Regions from separate parts of the Homo sapiens genome. Here region 1 is linked to region 2. The links are contacts of gene promoters, found by promoter capture Hi-C in blood cells and fetal thymus (Javierre and others, 2016). All regions are on one chromosome and are shown on one strand. The core of a region is centred on a gene start or on the middle of the fragment in contact, and the rest is flanking DNA. Distances in the headings are between cores, read along the strand shown.

Region 1 (3,544 bases), core at 44-2,543, 1.9 Mb after region 2:
TCAGATTCTGTATAGGTACGAAATGCCAACATACACTCAAGGTGCCTAAACGTTTTTAATATGATTAGAGGAAGTTATTGGAACTCTGGGGTGAGCCAGAAATAGTCAACACAGGAAAGAGAGATTGGAGGCAAGAAGGGAACTTGTCAAACCGTGTTTGTCTCTCAAGGCCATGATGGCCAGAGAGAGACTACAACCAGCTTCACACTCCAGGCTCCTGTCCAGACCTGTGCTGCTCTGGGGAGCCCCACATGACCCAGCAGCTTGGTTTCTGTGCCCTGAGTGTTCCGATACCAGGAAATCAAGTTTTGATGCTGCCATGTCTGTTTGACTATATTTCTAAATAATCTGTGCTGAACAAAGGGCCTGGACCCTACCTGTAGCCTAGACAGCACTCTCTAGCTGGAATTGACTAACTGAGTTTAGTTGTTTAAACTAAAGCTATAACCATTAACCTAGAGAAAGATGGAACAGCAGAAGAGAGTAAAATTCACATTTATCAAGTCATTTCAATGTAGTCAAAATACATTCATACACACATTTTCTTACTTAGCCTTCATATTATCTGTATAAGTAATATGAGAAACTGAGATGCAGAGAAGTTACTTAAGTGGCTTTTTGACAGTTACCCTGGTTACTAAAGGGAAAACCATTGCAGTCTATTTCTATATGACTTGAAGGGCCATTCTATTTCTACTGTATTGCCAGGAGGAAAGAGTTTCCTTGAAAGAAATTGGATGAAGAAGCTATCATAAAATTTTATCACCATAATAAACCTCTATAGAGTTATAGGCTTATTAGATAGAAATGTAAAGATTCCTTAAAACAGCAACAATGGAACAATGACAATAGTTGTATTGATGTCATTAAATATGGCACCACTGGTCATAGTGTAAAGGATGGATTGAGGGAGATTATGGAAGAAGGTAGAGAGAATGGCTACCAGGAACAGTCATTGGATATCCAGGTAGCAATACTATGTGGGTAAGTGTGTTTCTGAAATGAAGAACAGAGATCTGGGCTAAAGATGTGGATTCAGGAGATTTTACCATGAAGATCGTAACTAAAGCCAAGGGTATAAATGAGGTTGACCAAGAAAACCAAGAAGCAAGGTAAGAAGAGAATAGAGAGCAAAACTTGCCTTTAAATTTCTTTAAAATTTGAAAATGTAAGAGGGCCAGAGTCAATTATGTCCACAGAAGAAAAAAAAAAGAATACCAAGGAAAAAATAACAGAATTAAATAAAAAACTGCAAAGAAAAGAAAGTCTGAGTTCATAGAATCTGGTGGTTAAGATATTTGGGGACCTGCAGGAGAACTTTATAACCATGTAGGTTAAGCTACTGACTGTATCTTAGGTCAGATTCCTTGGAAACAGACTCCAAGGTAAAAATTTGTGTGCAGGAGAATTATTGGGTGGTTCTGGGTAGAGAGAGAATTTGAACTACAGTGAGGTTGCAACACATGCCTCAATGGAACCTAAGGGTAGCACTGGAGCTGGGAAAGCCCTTCAGTATTGTGCCAAAATGAGGCAAGGCAGCTGGGCTTTCAAACCAGCCTCAGTCATTGGAGGGATGTATCCTGGATGAGGTAATTCCCTTCAGTCAAGGGCAGGGCCCAGAGAGGGATGCACTGGTGAGCCATTAGTGGCCAACCTTCTGGCAGCTGGGAGAATGAATGATTCCATCCTGCAAGGGATCTGGGATGGTCAGCACCTCACAGCTTCCCAGGAGAGAATGAAGAAAATGAATGTGAAGAATGCTTTGCTGTAAGGGGTTTTTATAATTATAGCCACTAATTCTCTCTTCCAAATTTTCCCCGCCATCATCTTTTTGCCAATCTGACTCCTTTACTGACAGATTTTCTTCTTAGATAGCTACTTCTTTTACTTATATGTCCTGCAATTAAGTAGCTGTCTTTTCTTTCACTGTTTCACTGAGTTGTCACTAGTACCATAGGGGACAATACAAGTCTAAGTGGATTCCTATAGCCACTCCCATTAATACTTATGTGTAAAATTACCATACTTTACAGAATTGCTTTTTCTAGATCAATTTTCATTAGAAAGGAGGCTTTCTGTGTGAGCTCTAAGTTGAGGAATTTAGAAACTATAAACCAAGACTTGATGTATTATTTGAAGGCTCAGAGTGTATTGAAGAGTCTGGTTTTACATATTTTCTGTGGGACTTTACATTTCCTTAGAAGAAGACACTAAATAAATAGGCTACAATTATAACTACGAAATCTTACCATAATCTTATGTTCATAAATATAGAAAAAGATTAAAAGCTGTTAATCATTTTGGCAATTATTAATTTATGGAAGCTCTGAGTGTGAGGATGGTGTAAAAATAGTTCCCAGAAGGGATTTGAATCAACATGAACTTATATCCTCGTGTCAACCATTTTTATCACCCTGTGTCTTTCCATTCCCTGCAGGTGCTTAATTCAATATCCAGCTGTCTCTGGCAGTCACCTGAGATGTGTATTTACTGGCAGTTTTATTACTTTTTTCAGAATATATAGTACCATAGATTTATTTCTCTTTTTAATGTATTGATAGAATAGTTTAATATTTAAGATGTATTAGTGACAGGTTTTCTGGAAAGTATAAATTTCTAGTCTATTAAATTCGATTTAACCAAAAACAACCCCCACTCACACTCTCCCTATTAAAAAAATGGGAATCATGTAACATCTTTACTTAGATCTAACTAGAAACTGTTTGAAATGGGCAGATTTGTTCTTGCTTTGAAAATACCATATAAACAAAAAAAAAGTCAGTCCCATCTGTCAAATTGCCTGGAGAATGCATTTAACAAGAAATGAAGCTACATTAAAGGCCATAAAATATGCAGCAAGGGAAGGAAGGATAAAGCTATCCTGCAGTTCATTGGCTTCACCTACTGTGCAGTGTACTCCTTGTGAACAAGACAGATTAGATAGTTATTGCTACATCAAAATATCTGCCATTGTGGAGAGTAAGAGAACTAGAAAAAGAAAAAGGGACTCCAAATCCCAGCTCTTTCCATGATCATGAGCCAAAGAAATGTGAAAATTAATTACATTTTCTTTCATTTTATGAAATTGGATCAACTTTTCCTAATAGAGAATAGAACTTATTTGCAATAAAGGAAGCTTCAACTTCATTCATACTGTTACCCATTTGGCAATTGAAAGAAGTGAACTTAAAGTTTTGCAGCTGAGCCTAAAGGAAAAGGAATAAATTGCTGAAGAGCATGCACATAAGCTGGATAATGGCAATAGTATTGTATTAATCCATTCTCACACTGCTAATGAAGACATACCTGAGACTGGGTAATTTATAAAGGAAAGAACTTTAATTAACTCACAATTCAGCATGGCTGAGGAGGCCTCAGAAAACTTACAATCATGGCAGAAGGGGAAGTAAACATGTCCTTCTACACATGGCAGCAGCAAGGGGAAGTGCTGAGCGAAAGGCAGGGAAAGCCCCTTATAAAACCATCAGATCTCATGAAAACTCACTCACTATCACAAGAGCAGCACAAGGGGGTAACCGCCCTC
Region 2 (3,582 bases), core at 166-2,665:
CTGCTGCTTGAACAAGCTAGATAAATATCTAATAATTTTGACCATGTACTGCGTGTTAAGTCCAGTTTAAGTGTTTTCCAAAGACAAAGTTTTCATATACTTTCTGTAAAGCCCTACAGATAGAGACCATTATTATCCCCATCTTATAAATCAGACTGAAAAAGGTTAAATAGCTAATATTTTCATCTAAGTCTGTCTGACTCCAAAGCCAACACCCCAAATCACTGTTAAACAAGCTTCTCTTCCAAGTTAGGGCTCAGAAAAATTTACTTGCTTTCACAACTTGCCTTCCTAGGTTAAGCTTAAGCTGACATAAAACTCCAAAACAAAGCAAAACACAATAAATCACATAATTCTAATTTTAAAAAAAACTAATTTGATATTGGCTAACCACTTCCTCAAGTTTTCTGACCATGAAGCCCTTTGCTCTCACACTTTAATAAACCACCGATATTCTCTAACAAGTGACAACACAAATCCACAAATCTAATTGTTAGAGAGCTTTCAAGTAAGACTGGAGCTTTCTGGACAGGAAATTTTTATAATTCTATTTTTTTCAGGCTCTTGTGAAACACAGATTCACATTTTCATATATTTCTACACAAATCTAAGTGCTGTGTGCCCTGTTGGGGGTTCGATATCTAGTAAATTACATGAGTTAAATACAGCAAAAATAGGACTGCATTATTTATAAGGTCTAACGACGCAGTAGACTTTTCAGCATTTTTTGGACTTAAACCAGGGCTTTACGGCGCTGGTTAACTATTAGAGAAGGCAAAGGGACTGAACATTTTATCTGAAAGTCCTTTTATCACTTAAGACTCTGTAAAATTTTTGATTACTTTAAAAATTGTGTGTGTGAATAACGTTAGTTTACTAGAAAAGGGGCTTGCTAGTATATATAATTTGGTTAAAAAAACAAAAACAAAACAAAACAGCTCCTTACTTGAATGTGATTGTTTTGGCAATAGTAAAATTCAATCCCGTCGTTCTAGCGCTGCCTGCCTTCCTGGTTCTCCTAGGTGAGGGCCGCCATCCTGCGATAATTTACTTCGAGAGCTGCGAAGCGCTGGCAAGGGTGCAGTCTGGTGACTAGCACTTTTAAAAACAAAGCCAAACTCCGCTTTTAAAATAGAGAAGGCACAGACGCAGACCCTGCCTCTGACGACATCCAAAAGATTCATTATACACAGCCTATTCAGGCGAAGCTACAACCGCCCCAGGAAATATAAACTGTGTCGGCAAAGACAGCAGGGGGGAGAGGAAGTAACTGATGGGAAGGAAGCTAATCATGTGAAGTTTGTCCAACTCCACACGGTCTAATAAATTCCCGTTTGTTTCCGCTGGGAGCAGCCATTAAACGCGCCCTGACACGTGGGCGCAGGAACCTCCCTTCTACCTCTGGTGTTCAGAGATTTCCTTCTCGACCCACTTGTTTGTATACAACCACGCCCGGCAGGATGACCACCAGATGACCGGCCGCAGCAATGCCTCCACTCAGTCCCAGTTGGGCAAAGTTTCACTCCACTGCGGCGACGTGAACAAGAATCACGGCTTCCTTATCGTGAGTTATGAATGATTTAAGCCAAGTTTACAGGACACACAAAGCGAGGGACGAGTGAGTGACGGGAGGTGCTAAGTGACAGCGTTTTAAAGTTAGCTTTAATTGATATGCCCTAATTAAAATGAAAAACAGAATTCACCCTGCCCCACGGGATAACTGTCGGGGCAATAATTAAAAAAAAAAAAATCACCCAAGACTAAGCCTCAACCTCCCCCTTACCACTTGCAAATACAGTCTGCAGAAAAGCAGCCTCGGGTCCCCACTCGGGGGTCCCTCGCGGGGTGCGTCATATGGGCTCTCCCCTCTGCGACCCGCTATTTCCCTGCTAGACCCCCAGCGCCCAGCGGATTCCAAGGCTGCGCTCCCGCCGGCTGGTCCCGGGAGGTAGAAAGTAGGCAGAGGGGCGTGGCGTCCCTGTCGCCCCCACATGCCAGCCCTCCTCCAACGCCTGACACCACCACAAGCCACGGCTGGGAACACTGGGGGCCTCCCAACCCGGCGCGGGGCGCACGGCCGCAGGCTGGCGAGGAGGCAAGCGAGCTCAAGGGGAGACCTTTCCTTCCACCCCCAGCCCTAGCCCCAGCCACAGCCGTGGGGGCGGCTTCCCGCAACCTCGGGCGGCCGCCCGTCGAGGGCGCGCGCGCCGTTTCTGCCTCTGGGTCTCGGTGTCCCTTGGCCCCTTCCTCCCCCTCCCCCCGGTCTCCGGCGCCCAGCGCCCAGACCAGTCCCCGCCCTCCAGCAGGACACTCTTCCCTCCTTCCTTCCTTCCTCCGCTCCCTCCCTCCATCTCGCTTCCCAGCACCCGGGACTCGGAGGCGGCCCCCGAACTCGCTGGCCGACGCCCCGCGCCGCGCCCCGACCCCGCGGGGACCCGACTCACCACCCGCGCCCGCCGCTTGGTACTCACCCGCCTGCCGGTGCGCTGCCCCGCCGTCGCCGCCGGGACTCGGTCTCTAAGGGCTCCTGGAGACGGCTCCGACCTCTCCTCCTCCTCCTCCTCTTGCTCCTCCGGGCGCCGGCTCCGCCTCGCTGGGGTGGGCGGGGCGGCGGCGGCCCCGGGCTCCTTCCTCCGCGCCGGGCCCTGCCTCCCGCCCGGACGCCCTGGCTGTGCTGTCCCGGGCCGGGGAGCCCGCGTTGTGGCCCCGCAGGAGGAGGGGCGAGGCCTGGCCTGTGGAAGCTCGGTGGACGTCTGGTCGTCTTTGGCCATCCCCCTTCCTCTAATTCTCATGGAGGACCTGAAGTTCTAGGACTTGAGGGCCCCCACTCTACGACCCGCCCCCGCGCGGGGCCGCCCTGACTCCTCGCAAGTTTCCTTCGCGTGCGAACGCCTCGCTTGCCCCTGTGCCAGCGGTCCCCAGGGCTGTGAGGATGAGCGCTGCCAAACCCCTACACGAAAGTTTGGTTCTGTTCCAGAAACTATGGAGGAAAACACGCATAGTAACATTTAAAGGGCCCTGGGGCCACGGAGAGAAGTTTCCCAGAAAGTGGAGGTATAACTGCGGATTATAGAATTTGTAGTACATCCACCCACCATGAGCTTCCCGTCCATCTGCCCCGACCCCCTGAAATTTGTTTCCGAATGTCCAGTACCTGGCAGAGTTCTGCCTAATGAATTAATGGGATTTGGTTGGTCTTTTCTGGAAGGGTTCAAGGTCGGGTAAATGGAGGAGCCATTTCCGCTTCCACAGATTTTGTACTATTCCTTTGGCCATTCGACAGACATTACCAAGCACCCGCTGTGTACCAACTGCGATGCTAAAGGTGATGGGAGAGGTACAAAGATGAATCAGACAAGGGGCTTGCCTTCTTGGAGTCCAGAAAGAGTAAAGAAGCTGGATGTTCAGAAAACCACTCAGCGGACTTCTAGAGTATTCCTAGGTAGCCGCTTTCTTGTTTGACAGGGTGGAGAGAAAAGAGGTGAGGCCAAAGTAGGTCACTTAGAACCAGTGTGGGCAGAGTCCACACTTGAAATGGAGTCTGAAAGCATTGGTGAGGGATGTCTGTGTATTGAGTTTCAC

The links. Contacts are between HindIII fragments. The CHiCAGO score rates a contact against its expected background, and 5 or more counts as called.
Region 1: a contact is called between a fragment that was not itself captured here and the fragment with the promoter of GNG12-AS1 in region 2, in 4 of 17 cell types (M2 macrophages, M0 macrophages, M1 macrophages and 1 more). The highest score is 11.6, in M2 macrophages.

The regions. Positions count from the first base shown.
Region 1 is chr1:69,725,575-69,729,118 of GRCh38, forward strand. The region is part of intron 2 of LRRC7 (leucine rich repeat containing 7); the gene reads left to right. Among named protein-coding and RNA genes, the nearest start is that of LRRC7, 160 kb to the left of the region's middle. The HindIII fragment of the contact is 3,682 bases long and covers 1-3,134 here.
Region 2 is chr1:67,830,873-67,834,454 of GRCh38, forward strand. It overlaps GNG12-AS1 (GNG12, DIRAS3 and WLS antisense RNA 1), which reads left to right and starts at 1,416. Exons shown (of 10, transcript NR_040077.1): 1 at 1,416-1,564. It overlaps GNG12 (G protein subunit gamma 12), which reads right to left and starts at 2,595. Exons shown (of 4, transcript NM_018841.6): 1 at 2,472-2,595. The HindIII fragment of the contact is 10,966 bases long and covers 300-3,582 here.